Regions from separate parts of the Homo sapiens genome. Here all the other regions are linked to region 1. Evidence: promoter capture Hi-C in 16 types of primary human blood cells and fetal thymus (Javierre and others, 2016). All regions are on one chromosome and are shown on one strand. The core of a region is centred on a gene start or on the middle of the fragment in contact, and the rest is flanking DNA. Distances in the headings are between cores, read along the strand shown. Region 1 holds the start of PALLD (palladin, cytoskeletal associated protein). Region 2 has its middle 78 kb from the start of CBR4. Region 3 overlaps PALLD (palladin, cytoskeletal associated protein). Region 4 overlaps LOC105377524 (a long non-coding RNA gene).

Region 1 (5,665 bases), core at 958-3,457:
CTCCCTCCCTTCTCCCTTCCTTCTTCCCCGTCTCCCTTTCTTTCTTCCTTCCTTTTTTTTTTTTTTTTTTTTTTTTTTGCTACAAAGGGTCCTTTAGGGCAAAAGTCAAACACGAAAATTTTATGAAATTTTATGTTTGATGCAGAAAATGCACTACAATTTTATAATTTATTTCTTAATAAATACACATGGATTATTTTCCTTTCTAATTATTAAATTGTCAATGCAGGCAGATATATTTATCCTACAGTTTTAAATATCTCTTTAAACAGCTTATTTAATCTCAATTTCAAGGACATAATCTAATAGCTCATTTAATGCAGAAACAGCCAAATAAGATACTTTACAGAGTTTTTGAAGTTATCCCATGTCCTGTTCATCTTATCAACTTTATTCACCATACTGAGTCCATTGCAAATATTTAGATTTTACTTCTGAATTATCCATTTCCATTACCATTATCCAATTCAGGGCTTTATTCTTCTCACTTAAATTCAAAACCTATTTACCAAATTTGCTTCTATATTCTCTAATATGATTTAACAGTTAGAAATTTTAGTCGAAGATACTTTGTTCAATCTTTGTTTTCTTTGCTGTAATTTCACCGGGACACAGTCATTAACTCTAGATGGCCTGAATTTCTAACTGGAGCTCAGTAATTGCAATACCCTTTGACAGCCTCCACACACATATTGTTTAAGAAGTGGAGCTCTTGTCTGGGCCTTGCAGATTCCACTTGGTATCTCTTAAAGAACTTGTCATATTTATTTTTAAACCTGAATAATGATTGCCCTCTACATTTTTAAAAAATGAGGTAAGGAGGTCAAAGTGATTGTACTTGTCCAGTGCAATCCAGATCCTCATTCTATTGTGAAATATGCTATAAGGCCAGTTTTAATATTCAGCTCTAGCAATAACAGAGAAACCCAGAGGAAGAGCTGACACAGAACCCCTGGGATACAGACCCTAATCCATACCAGATTCTAGGATGCCAGAGGACTAATTTATATTCTAGGAATGTGTAATCATGTATTTACAGGGCAGTTAGTGGCCAGATAAACCTCATCGGCCTTTTCTGCTGTTAGCAATAACTTGTCAAAGAGACTTTGATTTTAAAAATCTGAAAAAAAAATCTGAATAATTGAGGTGAGTATTCAAGTTCTTTCTGTGAGAAAAAACATTGGAAGGCACATTTATCATGAAATGAGGATTTAATTTCTGCATATATGTGATTGAATAGATTTGTAATAGTTTTATATTGCCAAGAAATGGCTTTATATGTCACCACATTATTCATACTAGAAGGCAATTAGTATTTTTAGCAAATGTTAATAAGTAATATGAGCCTGAAATCATTTTATGTCAACCTCCTATATTGGATTCAAGACAATTTCATGTGCAACTTAAAACAACATGATAAAAATTATTCTGTGATGTTTAAACTTGACTGGACTCGAGATTGCACTGTGGTTTCCCTTAGTAAGCGTTATCTTATTAAAAATATGTATGTAAATTTTATGCATGAATATAATTTAAAATACCTGCTGTTACTATCCCAACTCATTTAATTATGTCCAGTGAGTTACTTTTAGAATCTTTTGAAAGTGTAATTAACAATTTATAATGTTACTGAAATCTAAGGTCTATCACTTTAAGCCATCATCACTTATCTAGCTTAAATATGGGTGAGGGTCTAGAAAGCTGCGTTTTCCTTTTCTGTGAAACATAACACATACACGATCTTGACAAAAGCTGGCTCCATAAATACATTTAATCCTTTTGGAATTGATAGCACCATCTTAGCATGCTTAAGCTTATAACAGAAAGTGTAATTCTCTGACAGCAAAGGCAGAGATGAAGTGGGCAGGCAAATCTTACGTATTATCTGTTTTTGGCAAAACCGTAACATTCTCATTACGTTTCCTCTCCAAGCAAAAGAATAATTAAGGTATCTTGTAAATAGTATCATATCTTCAGAAAAACTTTTGTATTTTTAGTTTTTTTTTTTTTAAGTCCTTAAAATGTTGCCCTACTAGTTAGTATATTAAGATACACCTTACAGACCTTTTCAATGCTTGGTCAGTTTGAAGACTCCAGAGAGGTGATGAATTTCAGATGAGCATTTCTTCTTTTCTGGGAGAATGGAGGTTGTGGCCTTGCCTATTCATTAGAGACTGCCTGGTCCGTGGTCACTTTGAGGCAACTGTGGCCTCAGACTCTCATCTGTCCTCTTACTCCACTCAGCTATATTTGGTAACTGAGCTCATGTTTCAGCAGACTGCCACGATCAGGAATTCCAGCAGCGGGCTGGGAAGCACCCCCAGGACCGAGGGCTGGGTTCTTAGAAATAAAGCCACTTAACATAGAAGGAACTATATTTATGGATCTGATAAACGTAGGATTTAAACACATTCTTCTATACTTTGGACTTGTAGCTGGAAATCACCACCTGGACCTTTAACATGTTCTTAATCAATTTAAAGTACAGTATGTGACTCCAAGTAGAAAAAGTGATAATCCAAATGGAAGCTCTTCTTACTCTGATCTTCTGTTCTGTGCATTTAAATTTTGGTCATGTGCTAGATTACCCTAAAATAGTAAATTCAGTAACTGAAAATTTAGCCACCTGTCAAATTGAGTGGAAAGTCCCATTGTTCTCTTATTTCATATTGCTAATTAAAAATTGATATATGACTATGGTATGTATTAAAGGCCTTGTCTATAATAGTATTAAATAAGTATGAACACACAGGGACTGGATCTTATCCACATTGCAACATTGAGTTCTTAGCTCAATGCCTAGGACATCATGAGCATCTCTTAAATATTTGTCAAAGAAATAAATGAATGTTGAATGAATAATATTCAGGAAAAGTATCAACCCTCTTACAGTTGCAAAAAATGTTTCACAATCATTTAATATTTTGATCTTTCAAATGACAAATAGATATAGCAAGAGTTTAATATTTTGATCTTTTAAATAACAAACATAGATAGCAAGAAGAGAAAGCTTTTCTGTTTAAAGGTCAGGTAGCAGAATCAAATATAAGGGGGGCAAAAAGAGCAACACAAAAGCTCCCAGTTAACTTGGAAATGGGGTGCTGAGTCTTCCTTTGTCTGGGTAAGACCATCACATTTGATTCAGTTTAATATCTAAATATTTTTTCTTTTCTGATGTTAGAAAATTTGTGAAGGTCTGCTATTGTATTTTCTTTATAGGCCAAACTGGTCCTTTAGAAATGGTCCTTTCTGTGAGTGGATACTTCTGTGGGTCATTTCATCTATTATATTAATTAAGAAGTGATTTTAAAATTTATACTTACGGCTGGGCGTGGTGGCTTATGCCTGTAATTGCAGTACTTTGGGAGGCCGAGGTGGGTGGATCATGAGGTCAGGAGATTGAGACCATCCTGGCTAACACAGTGAAACCCCCTCTCTACTAAAAATACAAAAAATTAGCTGGGCGTGGTGGCGGGTGCCTGTAGTCCCAGCCACTTGGGAGGCTGAGGCAGGAGAATGGTGTGAACCCGGGAGGCGGAGCTTGCAGTGAGCCGAGATCCCATCACTGCACTCCAGCCTGGGTGACAGAGCGAGACTCCTTCTTAAAAAAAATAAAAATAAAAATAAAAAAATAAAATTTATACTTACAAGGAAATATAACTCTGATTGATTGTCTTAGTTTGTGTCATTATAACAAAATGCCACAGACTGGGTAATTTACAAAGAACAGAAATTGATTTCTCATAGTTCTGGAGGCTGGGAAGTCTAAGATCAAGGTGCCAGCAGGTTTGTTGTCTGGTGAAGTTCCTGTCTCTGCTTCCACAGTGATGCCTTGAGCACTGTGTCCTCACATGGCAGAAGGTGGAAGGGCAAGAGGGGGTCAAACTTCCTCCATCAAGCCCTAAGGGCATCAAATCCCATTCATGAGGAGTCCTCCTGAATCACCTTCTAAACGTTACACCTCCTGATACTGTTGCATAGGGGATTAGGAATCAACAAAAATTTTGAAGGGGACAAAAACCTTCAAACCATAGCATTGCTTAAACACATATTTATATCTGCTTTTTCCTAAAACCACAAGATAATAGTAAAAACTGAAAAGGGCAGAAATTGGGAGGGAAGACAATAGAAGATATCAGAAATGAACAAAATTGTTGGAAAGAGATAAATATAAGTATGCATGTAACTAAATTACAAAGCTTAAATGCCTGCAGGAGGAGATACAGAAAAGAAGCAAGTGATTCACCCCATGGAGTCTCAGAAAGGCTTGGGAATAGGAAGCAGTGAACCCATCTTTAGAAATAATTTTAATTGGCAACTCTGATTTTTGCCTCTGCCTTCTGGTGAACTGTGAGTCTCATGGTGAATTCCAGAGGCAATCATGTTGGACTACTGGCCAGACGAGGCCTCTCCCACATTTCTTTGGATTGCTTGGTTCCTAAATCCTGGTATAACACCAGTGAAGTGATGAAGCCATAAGAAGAAAAAAGAAAAAAAAACAGCTTGTGGTCCTGAGAGAGGCTTCAAAGATGGATATGACTTTACTCAAAAGGACACAGAAATGTGACCTTTTTGTGTGTGTATTGCAAATAGTGCAGCAAACCAAGCTTGTTTTAAAAATCTTATAAGAAGTTCTTTTCCTTAGAAAATTGGCATCAAAAAAATTTAGAAAGTTTGATCAACACTCTTAAGTTAGTATAGCAAGGTCCAGTTGATATTAAGGATGAGATTAGTGTGTGGACAGTAATATCATTTCTCATGCACTTTCATATTTTCCACCAGAGCCCATTTCTGTGTGCACGAAGGTTGGGAAAGGGAGTCTGTGGCTCCTTCATGGGGCTCCAGTTCAGCTTTCAAATGATTACTTCTTCTTATAGAAATTCCTGCTCTTTTGAAGCACTTATATTTGCATCAACCATCCTCCATCCCACTTTTTAAAATTAAGACTTTGGATCTAGTTGGGCTCTTGGTTCTCTTCTTCACTCCACACCCTGCCATTATTCTGGGTGACTCAGCACCCATTTGTCTATTCTATATGTTGGCATATTGGTTTTGGACCTGCTTTTCTCTATGAATCTTCATCTCTGTTCCTCTTACAGATCACACAAACAGACCTCCTCCACCTCCAAAATCAGATATAACTTATCTACTGCTTCATAACAAATTACTGCAAAAATTAATGTCTTAAAACAATATATATTTGTTATTTCACACAGTTTCTATGTGTCAGGAATCCATTAGTCTTAGCTGGGTAATTCCAGATCAGGGTATCATGAGATAGTACTGAAGATGTTGCCCCAGCTTCTTTCAGGTGGAAGCATGGCTGGGGCTGGAAAATCTGCTTCCAAGGCAGCTCACTCACGTGCCTGGAAAGTTAGTCCTGTTATTGGCTGGAACCCTGTTGACTTCTCTGTGTCACTGCCTGAGTTTCCTAGCTTCATGGCAGCTGGATTGTGCCACAATGTCTTTTTTTTTAAAGTGGAGTTTTGCTCTTGTTGCTGGAGTGCAGTGGCATGACCTCAGCTCACTGCAACCTCCACCTCCTGGGTTCAAGTGATTCTCCTGCCTCAGCCTCCCAAGTAGCTGGGATTACAGGTGCCCACCACCACGCCCAGATATTTTTTTGTATTTTTAGTAGAGATGGGGTTTCACCATGTTGGCCAGG
Region 2 (5,665 bases), core at 2,107-4,606, 430 kb before region 1:
CTCTTCAATTTTTGGAATAGTTTGAGAAGAATTGGCAGTTTTTTTTCTTTCTTTTTTAATGTTTGGTAGAATTTAGCTGAGAAGCCATCCAGTCCTGGTTTTTTCCTTGTTGGGAGGCTTTTTATTACTGATTTATTATCATTACTTTTTATTGATCTGTTCAGGCTGTTTCTTTTTGGTTCAGTCTTGGTAGCTTGTGTGTCCAGGAATTTATCCATTTCCTCTAGGTTTTTAAATTTATTGGCATATGGTTGTTCATGATAGATTCTAATGATCCTGTGTGTTTCTGTAGTATCAGTTGTGACAGCTCCTTTTTTGTTTTTGATTTTGTTTATTTGGGTCTTCTCTCTGTATTCTTAGTCTAGTGGCTAGTTGATTTTGTTTATTTTTTCAAAAAACCAACTTTTTGTTGATCTTTTGTATTTTTAAATCTCAATTTTGTTTAATTCTACTCTAATCTTTATTATTTCTTTCCTTCTGCTAATTTTGGGTTTGGCTTGCTTTTTTTTTTTTTTTTTTTTTTGTTTTTTTTGCTTTTCTAGTTTCTTTTAAAACTTGTTTTGGAGACTGGGTCTTGCCAGTGGCTTTTCACAGGCCAAATTGGAGTGTGCTGTAGTCTCAAATTCCTGGCCTCAAAGCAACCTGGCCCGAGCCTTCTGAGTGGCTGGGGCTATAGGTGTGCACCACTATGCCCAGTTTTTTCCTAGATTCTTAAGATGAATCATTCGGTTATTAGAACTCTTTTTACTTTTTTGATATAGATGTTTATTGCTGTAAACTTCTCTTAATCATGCTTTTGCTGTATCACACAGGGTTTGGTATGTTGTGTTTCTGTTTTCATTTGTTTCAAGGAATTTTAAAATTTACTTCTTAATTTCTTCCTTCATCCATTGGTCAGTCAGGAGCATGTTGTTTAATTTCCATGTATTTGTACAGTTTTGAATATTCTTCTTGTTATTGATTTCCAGTTTTATTCCATTGTGGTCAGATAGGACACTTGATATGATTTCAGTGTTTAAAAATTTTTTGAGCTTGGTTTGTGTCCTAATATATGGTCAATCCTGTAGAATGTTCCATGTGCTGATAAAAAGAATGTGTATTCTATTGCTGTTGGGTGAAATGTTCTGTAGGTGTCTGTTAGGTCCATTTAGTCTGTAGTACAGTTTAAATCCAATGTTTCTTTGTTGATTTTCTGTCTAGATGATCTGTCCAGTGCTGAAAGTGGGGTGTTAAAGTTCCCAACTGTTATTTTATTGAGGTCTATCTCTCCTTTTAGATCTAATAATATTTGCTTTATATATCTGGGTGCTTCAGTGTTGGGTGCATATATATTTACCATTGTTATGTCTTCTTGCTGAATTGATACCTTTATTATTATATAATGTCCTTCTTTGTCTCTATCACTTTTTACTTAAATAGCCTGTATTATCTGACATAAGAATAGCTACTTCTGCTCACTTTTTGTTTCTGTTTGCATTGATTATTTTTTTCCATCCCTTCACTTTCAGTCTTTGTGTGTCTTTTACAGGTGAGGTGAGTTTTTATTTGGCAGCATATAGTTGCATGGTTTTTTTATTCATTCATTCATTCAACGTCTTTTAATTGGGGAATTTAATTTATTTACATTCAAGGTTATTTATTGGTAGGTGAGGACTTAACTCTTGTCGTTTTATTGATGGTTTTCCGGTTGTATATTCCTTTCTCTTTAATCCTCCTTATTGTTTATTTTTGTGGCTTAGTGGTTTTCTGTAGTGATAAGGTTTGATTCCTTTCTCTTTCTCTTTTGTATATCAGCTCTACAAGTGAATTTTATAATTTCATTTGTTTTCATCATGGTGGTGGTTATTGTCTTTTCACTTCCAGATCTAAAACTCTCTTGAGTGTTTCTTGTAAGGCTAGTCTTCCCTTAGCTTTTGCATATCTGAAAAAGACTTTATTTTCTTTCATTTCTGAGGAATAGCTTTGCTTATATTTAATAAAGAATATTAAAGCAATATTCTTTACTGGCAATATTTTTCTTTTAGTACATTGAATATATTATTTCTTTTTTTCCCGGCCTGTAAGGTTTCTGCTATCTGCTGTTGGCCTAATGGGTATTCCCTTATATGTGACTTGACGTTTTTCTCTTGCTGTTGTTAGAATTCTTTCTTTGTATTTGACTTTTGACAATTTGACTATAATGTGCCTCAGAGAGGAACTGTTTAGGTTGAATCTCTTTGGGGACTTTAAGCTTCTTAGAGCTAGATGTTCATCTCTTTTCCAAAACTTGGGAAGTTTTTTGCTGTGATTTCATTAAATCTGTTTTCTATACCTTTTTCCTTCTCTTCTCCATCTGGAGTTCCAAAATGCAAATATTTGTTCACTTAACAGTGTCCCATACATTCTGTAGGCTTTCTTTATTCTTTTTTTTTTGTCTGCATGAGTTATTTCAAAAGGCCTACCTCCAAGTTCAGAAATTCTTTCCCCTGCTTTGTCTAATCTGTTGTTGAAGCTCTTGATTGCATTTTTTATTTTATTCATTGAATTCTTCAACTCTAAGATTTCTGTTGGGTTTTTTTTTTTTATGTTCTTTGTTGAATTTCTCATTCAAATCATGAATTACTTTCCTGATTTGAGGGAACAGTTTAGCTATATTCTCTTTACCTCACTGAGCTTCCTTAAGATTATTATTTTCAATTCTTTTTATGGCATTTCACATATTTCCTTATGATTAAGGTGTGTTACTGGAGCATTATTGTGTTCTTTTGGAGGTATCATGGTTTCTTGTTTTTTCATGTTTGATATGTTCCTTGATGTTGATTTCTATGCATCTGGTAGAACAGTCACCTCTTCTAATTTGATGAAAGGTTTTGTAGGGAAAGACGTATTTGTATTGGAGGATCTTATAGTGTCAGTTAGGGGGGGTGTGTTGGCTTTGGTTCTAGGTGGATGCAGTACTGTAGTGTCTGTGCAGATTCTTCAGCTGTAATCCAGTCTGCTGATGTTTGTAAGTGCCCAGTGGCCTAGGCTGTGAGAATTTGTAGCAGTGGTGGTGCAGCTTTGCTGGGGTGGGCTCACTGGATTGTTTCTCAAATTGGGGGCATGTGTGTGAACGGTGTCAACCAACTTGGGGTCTTGCTTGCTGGGATTGGGGCCACAGGGATGTTTCTCAGGCCCTGGGTACAGGCATGCTCATTTGGCCTGGGGGTGTGTCTGCCAGAGGTGGGCCAAGTGGGCTGTTTCTTGGGCTTGGGACAGTGGTGTGCCTCTCAGCCAGCCAGGGGGTGTGTCCATGGGGGTTGACCCCATGGGGCTCTTTCTTAGGCCCTGGGCATGGTCATGTGACAGCTCACCTGGCCCAGGGGTGTGTCTACTGGAAGTTAATCTCCCAAGCTGTTTCTCAGGCCCTGGGCATGGGCACAGGGCTGCTGGGAAGGTCTAGGGACATGTATGCTGGGATTGGGCCCACTGGACTGTTTCTCATACCCTAGCCTGGGCACAGTTCCACTGGGTAGGCCTGGAGGCATGTCCATGGAGGTAGGGGGCATTGGGCTGTTTCTCAGGCTTAGGAGATAGGCTGGTACTGGTTCTGGCCTGAGGGCATGTCAGGTGCTTAGCAGCTCAGGGGCCCAGTTTGGCCAGCTCAAGGGTAGGTATGTATGCTTTGGGAGAATTTGCTAGACTGTTTCTCTGCCTGGAAGTTCAGGCAATGATGGTTGGTTTTCCTGCTGTGCAGAACCAGAGTCACAGCCAATCCTGGGCCCAGGTTCTGAGCCTCCAGGGTTGTGGCATTGCAGCCACCCATGTGTGCTTGGTGGAATGACAGAGCCGCTGGGCTGGAGAGGTGCATTTGCTACTGGGCCCCACAGCAGGCACCTAAGGGGTGGAGAGTACATATCTCATGTTCCTAATCCAGAGGAATGCAGCTGTGCAATCGACAGTGGCTCTCTAAAGTCGGTTCAGGGCTTGTGAGGACTGTGGAATTCTCCTGTAGTAAGGATTGTAGGTGTTTGCAGTGGTAATGGGGGCTGATGGGGCTCTGCTTACGTTTTCCCAGCAAAGGAAAGTTTCTCCTCTTGACTCCAGGCCAGTCAGAGTTGGGGGATGCAGGGGCATGGGCAGCAGAGACAAGGTGTCTCCATGCTGCCTTCTGGACTTTCAGTGACCGCAGCTACCCCCACTGCACTCCAGTGCTCTTCCTTTGACACTTCAGTTGAATGTTAACTGTTTGTTCATTTGTTGATCCTTTCTTGGGGGGATGAATGCCAGGAACCTCTAGTCAGCCATCTTGCTGACATCACTCTTATGTAACTTCCCTTCCTCGTCAAATGCTGTTTTTCATATTTATCCCTGCCAATAGAAGTAAATCCATTTCTTTACCTTTAACTCTGAATAGTAAGTAATATTTCATTGTATGAATTAATTAGTTTTGTTCCTTCTTCTACTAATGACAAATTAGGCTTTCCTCAAATTTTTTATCCTTTTCTACGTATTTAAGCTTCTGTAGGGCCTGGTTCTTAATTTTTTTGGTGCCATATGCCTTTTTGACCCTCTGGTAAATCTTCTGGATCCCTTCTCAAAATAATGTTCATGGAGGCATAAAATACATAAAACAAATTATTTTTAAGTAATTATCAAAGTATTAAAAACAAATTTATAATACAAATGCCTATAAATTACATCTATTGGTAACTCTAACAACTGCCATAATTTTGAAGTAATGCTGAATTTAGATGGATTTTAAGATATTTCAATATTTGTAATATAATTTTTACTAGGACAGTCCCAGGTATTTTATACTGTTGTGTTTTGTTGCCTACATTCATAATTGAAGGAAATTCTAAATTTCAGCTAGGGGGTAATGTTTTTCCCATCCAAGTTCACAAATTTTAACCATCTGTGGAATTTTGTTAGGTGTGTACACATTTTGTAATTGAAATTTTACTTTAGTTTCCAACTACACTAAAATAATAGCTGAAATTTATTGAGCTCTTACTATGTGCCAGGTACCATGTCAAAATTATCATCCCATATAATCTTCACAGCAGCACAAAGAGAGGGGTGCTATTTTAATCTCCATTTTCCAAATAAGGAAACTGAGGCTTGGGGAGGTAAAGTAACTTGCTTATGGGTCACACATGATCAAAAGAGCTAGGATTCAAATCCTGGTTGGCCAACTCCAACACTCAAGTTCCTCACCACCATAATATAGAAGTTGTATTTCTATAATTTAAAGGGGTCAAACTAAATTTACATGATGATAAAGGAGGTTGTAGCTACTGAGCAAGCCAAGGGGATTGTCATGTTATGCATGTTCATAAAAGGGAAAATCAAGGACAAATTCAGCATTAAAATATATAATGAATCTTGTAAACTACATAGCAAGTCATGGGGTATAGAAGACAATGTGAAATACACAATTCTAGTCTAATTCAAATGTATCCTCAAAGCTCCATTATATTGCATATGTAAAAGATGAAATATTTTCACCTTATGGAGGCTGTGAATTAGATAAATGACCAGCTTTCTCTTTCCCGTAGTAGGAAAGCCTAGGCCCAAATATGTTGTCCGTCTGTTGTAACTATGTAGATATTAATGCTATATGTGTATATGAATATGGGTGTGTGTGTGTGTGTAATATCTCATTCCTTGTTCCATTTATACTTACTTTCTTCCTTTTCCCCTC
Region 3 (5,665 bases), core at 2,349-4,848, 410 kb before region 1:
GTGACATCATAAATTATCATTATTAAATTCCTCATAGCTGGTACTGTGTTATCATGGGTCTGAGACATTATGCATGGACATGCATCAAGATGGTTTTTAGGAGCCCCAGCAGCTTGGCGGACCCCAGCAAGAATTTCCATGTGAATATACTTTACATGAGGTATATGCTTACCTCCTTCTAAAATTCTTTCATATTTAACCACTATCTCCCCTGCCACTTAGTGCTCTTAATCCTGGAATGAGCCTTAAATACCTTCGTATTGCATTCAGTAGCTCTGGAATCAGTCTAAGTTTGTAAACCAGTTCTGCTGTCCCTTACAGGTGAGTGACTTTAGGCAGGTAACTTAATCTTTCTAAGTTTCCTTCTCTGTAAAACAAGGCCATATAGTTAATACCTAATGGGTTCTTATGAAGATTAAAGGCATTAATACTTGTAAAGCACCGGGCAGCATTGTGTTTTGCATGAAGCCAATGCTCAAAATGTTAAATTATTGTAGCACTCACTATGGATATAATTATAATAACCAGTTTTGAGGCATCCTTTAGAATTGTTTATGTAATGGAATTTTATTTTTCTTGGTATTAGAATGTAATTTACTCCAAAGGAAAAACAAAATACCTTTGGCACAGGAGGCAGACTATGTGGGAAGCAGATTAACCTTTTTAACTTCTGCTGGTGCTTGAAAGGTGCTAAGCACAATCATACTGAAATGTACTTGTTAGTGTGATGGCTGCATTTGATGTGGAGGAGGAAAAATATGCCCTATTCAGCTCTAAACAGATCCTTGATATGCTTAGCCTGCCTCTTCCTCCCCTCTCAAAAAAAAAAAAAAAAAAAAAGTAAACAGGTTGGCATACTACTCTGGAAAGGTCACACATTTCTACACTGTTTTCAGGGTTTTTGCTGCTACTGCTTAGAACCATATATACAAATATTGCCACAGAATATTTCCTTAACTTCCCAAATTTAAGAAAAAGGAATAGTTATCATTTGTAATCTCTCTATTCTGATACCAACCTGCACTTCTGAACATGAAAGGGGAAGGTGTGGTCTTCAGGAGGCAGAATTATTAGTTTGATTTATACAGTGTTATTGGCTAAATATATTACTAACCAATACATAACCAGGAGCATTTAGAGAGCATCCAAACTAAGAAGTTGTATAATTTTGTCATTTTTGTTTGGGGGAAAAAACCCCCAGAGTTCAGTGAAGCTTTTTTGAAAAGATGCCTTCCATGTGCATAATAGAAAATTCAGGTTTTTAAGTCTGAACATACTATTTTTGACAAAGGTCATATAGAATTAGCAATAAGTGATTTTAATAATAATATGCCTATTAACCCTGGTAATCATAGTTAGTAGGCTCTGATGCACATTAATGCTGCTGCATTTGCTTTTATTAATTTTCTCATTTCTATCTGCTTTACTATGAACATAAGAATAATGGAAGGGAATGTTTAGAGTGAAGCTTGAAATGAGCCAGGAAACCTTATAATGCTAAAACAAAACACAAGCAACAAACTAACATTTTATATTTAACTCAGTTGTGTGTTACTTTTCCATTCCAAACAAATCCACAGAGTTTAAAGCTTATATTACAAATAAGTTTGAATTCTAAAAGTGATTCTGTATTAAACATCCAGCTTGTAAAGATTATTTCATACCTTGTGCAAGGCCAATTATTTATGTAATATGGAAATAACATTTATATTTCATAGTTTATGAAATTTAACTTGTGGCACACAGGTCTTCATAAAAGCTTGCCACTTGTATACATAATGCAGTTTGAGGAAACATCAGACTGCAAAATAGCCATTCCAAAATCCAAGTGCAATACAAAGTAACTTAGCAACACAACAAAACAAAGTAAAACATTCGTGTTTAGATGTCGTTGTTCTTAAAGATAGGATTAGAGTCTAAAATAAACTGTATTTGTGATCCTCATTTTGGCATTCTCTTTGGTGTAACTGCACAGTCACTCATTATTTTGCTAAACTATGTGATTGCTTTGGTCTCTTATGAATTGCTTGAGCTACACACATCGAGTGTGATACACAGCCCAGTATATGTTTAGAGCTGTGTGTTCTATCCCAAGTAGAATTTGGATGCAGTCAACAATATCTAATGTTTTTCTTATTCCCAAAAGATTAACCCAGGTGGAAAAATATCATATTCTATAAAATATTCTGCTGAACTTTAATATTTTCCTCCCTCCTTGGTTCTCACCCTTCTCTTGGCTGCTTTCTGTAATTATTTTCCACTGCTCAGGAGAGCTCTACCGTCTGTGTTTCATTACTGAACTAATTTTTCCACTCTAGTCTTCCTCTTTTCCTTGGTTATTTCATTTCATCTGGGCTACAGTGTACTAGAAAACATACATGTATTCTCCCTTTCAAACCCAAATACTTTTTTTTCTAAACTCAAATAACTTTAAAATTTCAAAATTTAAGGTAACTAAAGGGCATTAAGGAAGTAAGGAGTCAACTTCAGTTTTCTGTCAACTACACTTTATGCTTTTGGGATTACTATATCTTGAAAGATTTAGCTATTTTGAATTTTTTTTTCACCACCTTTTATGACATGACTATTTAAACTCATGTCTTAATTCATAAATTATAAGAAAAAAGTTTTAATATACGGTAATAGATGTTGTAAAGCTGAGATTCTAAGAGCATTAAACATTTCCAGAATGGCATCCTTACAGCAACAAATGGTAACTTATGCCAAGAGTTAGGTAGAAAAATGGTGTGTCACTGGTCATGGTTTAAATGCCACTTTGTTTTGCTAATGGATAGTGAAGTTCACTCCAATTTTTAAGTGATGACTCACAGAACTTATATCTGCCATATTTGGACATACCAGTTACTGAAGCCCCCAAGACAGAAAAGAAGGGGTTTTACTCTTGGAATTAAAATCAACTAGGCAACATGCTCAGAAACTTGGAACAAATACTACTACTGCTAAGTGGCATAAATATCAAAATTCTCTCACAGCAATTTCAGTGGGATATATACATTTACACACTGAGGCCTAGACTTCATGAGTTTCCCTTCCTTTTGCCTGTCTTGGGTTATTTAGGTAAAGAAGACTCTTAGCCCTACCCCTTAAGATGCTGGGAGTGTCAACTGATCTTTGGAGTTGGTTGGAATACTATAATAGGTAGTGTTAGAAACTGGTCTGTTTACTGTGATGCTCTGGGTTCTTTGAATCTTTTTTTTTTCTCCTTTTGATAGACCCAGAGTAGTTATTTTACCCTTGGCTGAAATCACAGGTTGGATAGGATATTCTATTAGGAGGGCTGTTCTTGGTCCACTTCTCATTGCTTTGTCTTCTCTCCAAAGGGTAGAGCAAAGAACCAGAGAGGGTTAACCATGGGGCTCAGCCTGGGATTTGCAAAGCAGAGAATTCTGGGGCCTGGAATAAGGGCAGTAACCACTCTCTTTTGGGGCTTCTCTTGGCCCTGAGGGTGCTGAGAGTAGAGAGCAGCTTCCCAGCTTCATGTGTGGCTGATGTCAGCTGTGCTATGGGTGTGGCCGTCCTCTAGCTCACAGCTCCTCCACCCAAGCCCACAGCTGTGGCAGTTGTGGCACAGCCACATCTGCTGCCTAAGTCCTTTCCCATGGAGGTGATAAAATGGAAAAGCCAGGAGGTCAGAAGACCACACAGCAACAACATACTGGGTAGAAATTCCATCCCAAATTGACTTGCTTACTTTCTGACAGTACTGTGGGAACGGAGTACCTAGACACAGAACTGATCCTTTACATCTGGTTCCACAGGCTTCTGTTGTAGGCCTGTTGCTTTAAGATGGGGTAGTTACTGTCTCTGAATTAAAATAATGACAGTAACTAGCATTTATTGAAAGCATAGTATGTGCCAGGTAAACTGAATGCTTTTTACATGTACTATTTAAATCTGTATTATTATTATTATTATTATCATCCTCATTTTACGAGGGAGGAAACAGGCACAGAGAAGTTAAGTGACTTGCTAAGGTCACACAGGTAGTGAGTGGCAGAGCTAGAATTCCAGCTGAGATTGCCTGATGCCAAAGTTCATGCTCATAACCCCTGTACTGCATGGCCTGCCGGCCTCATCCTAGGTTTTTTCAGTATCATCGGTGTTGCCCTACAATCTTGGTATTTGTAGTAACATTTCTTTTTTATTTCCTTCCTTTCCTTTTTTTCCTATGTTAACAAGGGTTTCTTTTTTTTGGCATTATATATTGGGCTTTGGGTAAGATTACATTTATTTTCTAAAAATTTATTTTTGGCTAATGGCAGTGGCTCACGCTTGTAATTCCAGTGCTTTGGGAGGCTGAGATGGGAGGACTGCTTGAGCCCAAGAGTTCTAAGCTGCAGTGAGCCATGATTATGCCACTGTACTCCAGCCTGGGTGACTGAGGAAGACCTTGTCTCTAAATGAATAAACAAAAATTTCTTTTTTATTCTAATTGATAAATTATAATTGTATATATTTGTGGGGTACAATGTGATATTATATGTATGTAATATGGAATGATCCAAGGGAGATTTTCAGCAGCTCACCTTCATCTAGTGACTTCATAATAATTTGTCAAGAGAGTTTAAATGACTGGAGACTACTGACCCCCAAGGCTGGCCTGCTGTCTTAAACTCTGCACACTGCCATTGGCCATGAGCACTGAGTCAGTCCTTCCTCACTGAGAACTTTTCCACATGTAAAAATGCATTATTATAATTTGAGGAAGACACTAAGCGGACTCACAATTGCAGTTTTACGTTTATGTTCTTTTGTTCTATAAAATGGCTTATTCCAATAACAATTTAAAACATGCTAAGAAAAATGTCTTGAAATTAATAGCAGGTTCCCAGTGTTGGCAAATACGTAAGGACCACAGATAATTCCATCCCATAATATACCCCAGCCTTTCTAGGGCAAAAGAGGAATAAATGACCCAACACGAAGAAAAATTTTGGATTTTGTCAGTTCTCCACCATTTTCTTAAACAGGCAGAAAACTAAACTAAAAGCTAGAATTTGTTAATGTCAAGGAAATGCACTGAAAATATAATAAGGAAAAAAGAGGCCGAGGCAGGTGGATCACCTGAGGTGAAACCCCGTCTCTATTAAAAATACAAAAAATTAGCTGAGCGTGGTGGTGCTGAGGCAGAAGAATTGCTTGAACCCAGGAGGTGGAGACTGCAGTGGGCTAAGATCATGCCACTGCACTCCAGCCTGGGCAACAGAGCAAGATTCCGTCTCAAAAAAGAAAAAAAAAAAAAAAAAAAAGAAAAAAAAGCAAGTTCCGCTTTTGTTTCTTCATATATATCAAATATGAACACAAACATTAAAATGCAACTTCTTAATAGTGATTTAGACTTTTTCAGGGTGATGGTCATGTATTCATTGATTAAAACATTTAGAACTTTAAGAATGTGCATTAATATAGAAGCTTTTCATTAACAGTGAAGAGTTTGCTGTGCTCTATCACAACCTGATTAGCTGGATAATCTGTTTTCATTCTGATCTTAATATTATTGCAGAAAAATATATTTATATGACCATGGAATATTAGAATATAATAAACCTTGAATAAACTTTATTTATTTATTTATTTAGAAACAGAGTCTCAGGCCGGGTGCAGTGCCTCACACCTGTAATGCTAACACTTTGGGAGGCCGAGG
Region 4 (5,665 bases), core at 1,052-3,551, 300 kb after region 1:
ATTCCTGGAGATCTTCCTGGGGACAGAGTGGGGAGATGCTCACTGCATCATAATCTATGTCCAGGAACAGTGGGGTGGTTCAGGCTACTGAACCAGGTGAGTGGGTGCTCTGAATGTCTGGAGATTTGCCTGGGCATGAAGCAAAGAGGGCCTCCATGCACCAGGATCTCTGTACAGGAAGGACTGGGCAGGTCAGGCTGCTGATCCAGGTAAGCATCGTCCTCTGAGTGCCTGGAGATCTGCTTGGTTTGAAGCAAGGAGTGCCCCCCTCTACAAAGATCTCTGCACAGGAGGGGTGAGGCAACTTGGGCTGCTGAATCAGGCAAGCAGATGCTCTGACTACCTGGAGCTTTGCCTAGGCATGGAGCAGAGAGCCATGCTAGACCACAATTTATGCCCAGGAAGTGTGGGGCAGCTCAGGCTGCTGAAGCAGGTGAATGGGTACCCTGCATGCATGGACATCTGTATGGGCATGGAGTGGAGAGGGCCTGACTGGACCACAATCTGTGTCTATGAAGGATAGGGTGGCTCAGGCTATTCGTCCAATCAAATAGATGCTCCAAGTGCCTGAAATTCTGCCTGGGAGTGGAGTGGTATGGACCCCATTGCATCATGATCTCAGGATAGCAGGCTGGGGCACCAAGAAATGGCACATGCAGACTGATTCCAGATTACTAAACTTGACCTGGCTGCAAATCTCACTGTCCAGGAGAAACTGCAGCTTTAGAAGTACTCCTCTTTCCCCAGGATTGCAACAGGGTAGAACACAATTCCAACACCTACTGCTGAGATGCTTTCCACAGTTCTGGCTGTGGAGGCCCCTACCCAACTCCAGGCCAGGCACTCCAGTCTCCAGCTTGAGACTAAAATGCCTGTGTGGCAACACTGCCAGGTCACCCCAGAATCTATAACAGTTTCTGACTGAAAATCTATGTTGTCTGATATTAGTATAGCCAAACCAAATCTCTTTTATTTGCTGTTTGCATAGAATATCTTTTCCCATCATTTTACTTCCAGCCTCTTTGTGCTTTGGGATCTAAAAGGAGTCTTTTCAGACAGTATATATTCGATTATGTTTATTTTTTTAATCTATTCTGCCAATGTCTACCTTTGGATTGGAGTGTTTAAACCATTTACATTTAAAGTAATTGCTAATATGGATTTTTAGTCTTATACTATTATTGTTCCTCATTTTCTCAATTGCCACTTCCTTTCATTTCCATTGATTTTTATGTCTTATCATTTTGATCCCTTCTCATTTTCTAACGTTATTGAAATATATCTTCCATTTTAAAAAATAAATTTGAATGTATATATGTAAGGTATACAACATGATGTTTTAAGATATAGCTATAGATAGTAAAATTATTACCATAGTGATGCAAATTAATTTGTTCATGTTACCTAGTTACCCATTATTTTTCTTTCCTTGATATATAATATTTTACATATTTATGGGGTATATGTGAGTGTTTGTTGCAGGGATAGAATATGTAATGGTCCCATTGTTACTGCAATACCAAGGGTTTGGTCTAGGCCCTACTGCTCACTGCACAGAAAGCCAATCACTGAGATGATGAGTACTGCCAAGGAAGAAGGCTTTAACTTGGTGCTGCAGCCAAGGAGATGGGAGCTCAGTCTCCAATTCATCTCCCTGACTGACTAACTATGGGTTTATATAGCAGGGAAGAAATGTAACCATGCATAAGAAAACAGGAACTAAGGAGGGGCAAGGAAGCCATCATCATGAATGAGAAGTCTGACAACTGGTGCTGTGATCTGGTGAGTTTCAGTCCTTTGATACTTTTCTGAGGCAAATTTCAGTTCTTTGATACTTTTCTGAGAGGCCTGAAGATCCTGTCCAAAGGAAGGAACTCAGATAAAACAAATATAAGCTTCAAGCTTTAAGAGCAGAAGGATCAATTTCTACGTTTATCAAAAAGAACAGTATATGGGACTATTGGGTTGGTTTCAACATCAGGGTACTTGGGGTATCTGTCACCTTGCATATTTATCCTTTCTATATTTTGGTATCATTTCAAGTTTTATCACAATATTCTTGCTAAGTGTAGTCATCATAGTCTGCTACCAAACATTAGGACTTATTTTTTTCCATCTAAATGCATGTTAATACCCATTAACCAACATCTCTTTATACAGCCGCCTGCCTACCCACCTTTCCCACTCTCTGGTATCTAGCATTTTATTCTCCATGTTAATGAGATCAAGTTTCTTAACTCCCACATATGAATGAGAAGATGTGGTATTTGTCTTTCTGTGCCTGACTTATTTCACTTAGTATAATAACCTCCAGTTCCATTCATGTTGCTGCAAATGACGTGATTTTATTCTTCTTCTATGGCCAATTAGTATTCTATTGTGTGTTTATGCCACATTTTCTTTATTGAGTCATCTATTGATAGACACCTAGGTTGATTCCATATCTTTGCTATTGTGAAGAGTGATACAATAACTATGAGTGCAGGTATCCCTCTGATATACAGATTTATTTTCCTTTGGATAAATATTCAGTAGTGGTGTGTCCAGAGTTGGTTCCTTCTGGTGGGTTCATGGTCTCGCTCACTTCAAGAATGGAGCCGCAGACCTTTGCAGTAAGTGTTACAGCTCTTAAAGGTGGCACAGACCCAAAGAGTGAGCAGCAGCAAGATTTACTGTGAAGAGCAAGAGAACAAAGCTTCCACAACGTGGAAGGGGACCCCAGCAGGTTGCGACTACTAGCTGGGGTGGCCAGCTTTTATTCCCTTATTTTTCCCCTCCCATGTCCTGTTTCTGTCCTATCAGAATGCCCTTTTCTCAGTCCTCCCCATGATTGGTTACTTTTAGAATCCTGCTGATTGGTCCATTTTATGGGATGCTGATTGATCCCTTTACAGAGTGCTGATTGGTGCATTTTACAAACCTCTTGCCAGCTACAGAGTGCTGAGCGGTGCGTTTTACAATCCTAGCCACAGAGTGCTGATTGGTGTGGTTTTTGTTTGTTTGTTTGTTTGTTTGTTTGTTTTTTTGAGAGGGAGTCTCACTCTGTCGCCCAGGCTGGAGTGCAGTGACGCAATCTTGGCTCACTGCAAGCTCCACCTCCCGGGTTCACACCATTCTCCTGCCTCAGCCTCACGAGTAGCTGGGACTACAGGCGCCTGCCACCGCACCCAGCTAAATTTTTGTATTTTTAGTACAGGCGGGGTTTCACTGTGTTAGCCAGGATGGTCTTGATTTCCTGACCTTGTGATCTGCCCACCTCGGCCTCCCAAAGTGCTGGGATTACAGGCGTGAGCCACCACGCCCAGCTGATTGGTGCGTTTTACAATCCTCTTGTAAAACAGAAAAGTTCTCCAAGTCCCCACTGACCCAGGAAGTCCAACTGGCTTCACCTGTCAGTGGGATTTCTGGATCATGTGGTAGTACTATTTTTAGTTTATTGAGAAATCTCCACACTGCTTTTTATAGTGGCTGCATAATTTACATTTCACCAACAGTGTTTAATAGTTCCCTTTTCTCTGGATTCTCACCAGCATCTGTTATTTTGTGATTTTTAAATAAAAGCCATTGTAACTGAGGTGAGGTGATATCTCATTGTAGTTTTGACTTGCATTTCCCTGATGATTAGTGATCTTGAGCATTTTGTCATATACCTCTTGGCCACTTGTATTTCTTCTTGAGAAATGTCTATTCATGTCTTAGCCCAATTTTTAATGGGACTATTGGTTTTTTACTGTTGAGTTGTTTGAGTTCCTTATATATTCTGGATACAGCCCCCTTTTGAATGAGTAGTTTGCAAACAGTTTCTCCTATTCAAGCAGTTGTCTCTTCACTTATTGAATGTTTCTTTTGCTGTGCAGAAGCTTTTTTGTTTAATATAGTCCCTTTTGTCTATTTTGGGTTCTGTTGCTTGTGATTTTGAGGTTTTAGTCATAAAATCGTTGCATGGACCAGTGTCCTGAAGAGTTTTCCCTATGTATTCTTCTAGTAGTTTTATAGTTTCAGGTATCACATTTAAGTTGTTCATCCATCTTGAGTTGATTTTTGTACATAGACATAGGGGTCTAGTCTCATTCTTCTGCATATGGCTAGCCAGTTTTTTTTAATGTACCATTTATTGAAGAAGGTGTCTTTTCCCCAGTGTATGTTCCTCATGACTTTGTTGAAGATCAATTGACTGTAAATATATAGATTTATTTCTTGAGTCTCTATTCTGTTTCTTTGGTCTATCTGTCTATTTTTCCATTAATACAATGTTGTTTTGGTTACTATAGGCTTGTAATATGTTGGGAAATCAGGTATTGTGATGTCTCTGGCTTTGTTTTTTGCTCAGGATTGCTTTAGCTTTTCTGGATCTTTTTTGATTAATACAAGTGTCAGGCTAATTTTTTCTATTTTTGTGAAAACTGACATTGGTGTTTTGATAGGGATTGAATTGAATCTGTAGATTGCTTTGGGTTACATAATCATTTTAATGATATTAATTCTTCTGATCCATGAGCACATAGTATCTTTCCATTTGTCCTCTTTAATTTTTTCATCAGTGTTTTGTAGTTTTCCTAGTAGAAATCTTTCACTTCCTTCATTAAATTTATTCCTAGGCATTTTTTTGGTAGCTGTTGTAAATAGGATTTAGTTCTTGATTTCTCTTTGGGGTATTTCGTTATTGGTGTATAGGCATGTGACTGATTTTTGTGTTATGATTTTGTATCCTGAAACTTTACTGCATATGCTTATCAGTTCTAGGAGTTTTTTGTGGAGTCTTTTGTTTTTTCTTTTTTTTAAATAATATAAAATTCTGTTATCTGCAGAGAGGGACAATTTGACTTCCTTTTCCCCAATTTGGATGCATTTTATTTCTTTTTCTTAACTGACTAATCTGGCTAAGGTTTCCAGTAACATGTTGAATAGGAGTGATGCAAGTAGACATCCTTGTCTTGTTCCAGTTCCTGGATGAAATGCTTTCCATATTTCTCCATTCAGTATGATGTTAGCTGTGGGTTTGTAATAAATGACCTTTATTATTTTGTTATATGTTCCTTCTATACCTAGTTTGTTGAGTGTTTTTATCATGAGGGAGTGTTGGATTTTATCAAATACTTTTTCTGCATCTATTGAGATAATCACGTTTCTTGTCCTTCATTCTGTTGATGTGATTTATCATCATATTTATTCATCTGCATATGTCAACCCATCATAGTACCCCTGGAATAAGTCCCACTTGTTTGTGATGTATTATCCTTTTGATGTGCTATTGGATTTAATTTGCCAGTATTTTCTTTAGGATTTTTGCATCTATGTTCATCAGGTATATTGGCCTGTAGTTTTCCTTGTCTGGTTTTGGTATCAGCATTTGGTAATGCTGGCCTTGTTAAATGAGTTAGGGAGAATTCCCTCCTCTTCAGTCTTTTGGAATAGTTTGTGGAGGATTGATATAAGTTCTTCATTATACATTTGACAGAATTCAGCAGAGAATCTATTTGGTCCTGGTCTTTTCTTTGTTGGAAGACATTTTATTACCAATTCTAATTACTATTCATTATTGGTCTTTTCTTGTTTTCTATTTCTTTCTGATTCAATCTTGATAGGTTTTATGTTTGCACGAATTTATTCATTTCTCCTAGGTTTTTCAGGTTGTTAGCATACAGTTGTTCATAATAGTCTTTGA

The links. The method cuts DNA at HindIII sites, captures the fragments that hold promoters and counts their contacts. A CHiCAGO score of 5 or more calls a contact.
Region 2: a fragment that was not itself captured here is called in contact with the fragment with the promoter of PALLD in region 1 in 1 of 17 cell types (endothelial precursors); the score reaches 6.6 in endothelial precursors.
Region 3: a contact is called between a fragment that was not itself captured here and the fragment with the promoter of PALLD in region 1, in 1 of 17 cell types (endothelial precursors). The highest score is 8.5, in endothelial precursors.
Region 4: a contact is called between a fragment that was not itself captured here and the fragment with the promoter of PALLD in region 1, in 1 of 17 cell types (endothelial precursors). The highest score is 5.3, in endothelial precursors.

The regions. Positions count from the first base shown.
Region 1 is chr4:168,493,594-168,499,258 of GRCh38, reverse strand. It overlaps PALLD (palladin, cytoskeletal associated protein), which reads right to left and starts at 2,207. Exons shown (of 22, transcript NM_001166108.2): 1 at 2,065-2,207. All of the region lies in intron 1 of LOC107986198 (a long non-coding RNA gene), which reads left to right. The HindIII fragment of the contact is 1,197 bases long and covers 1,816-3,012 here.
Region 2 is chr4:168,929,141-168,934,805 of GRCh38, reverse strand. It overlaps a transcript of CBR4 not described here. Among named protein-coding and RNA genes, the nearest start is that of CBR4, 78 kb to the left of the region's middle. RefSeq lists an enhancer at 3,477-3,978. The HindIII fragment of the contact is 2,247 bases long and covers 2,233-4,479 here.
Region 3 is chr4:168,905,396-168,911,060 of GRCh38, reverse strand. The region is part of intron 15 of PALLD (palladin, cytoskeletal associated protein); the gene reads right to left. It also overlaps a transcript of CBR4 not described here. Among named protein-coding and RNA genes, the nearest start is that of CBR4, 100 kb to the left of the region's middle. The HindIII fragment of the contact is 3,674 bases long and covers 1,762-5,435 here.
Region 4 is chr4:168,190,514-168,196,178 of GRCh38, reverse strand. LOC105377524 (a long non-coding RNA gene) reads left to right here. Exons shown (of 3, transcript XR_939424.3): 2 at 1,683-1,782. Among named protein-coding and RNA genes, the nearest start is that of ANXA10, 100 kb to the right of the region's middle. The HindIII fragment of the contact is 793 bases long and covers 1,905-2,697 here.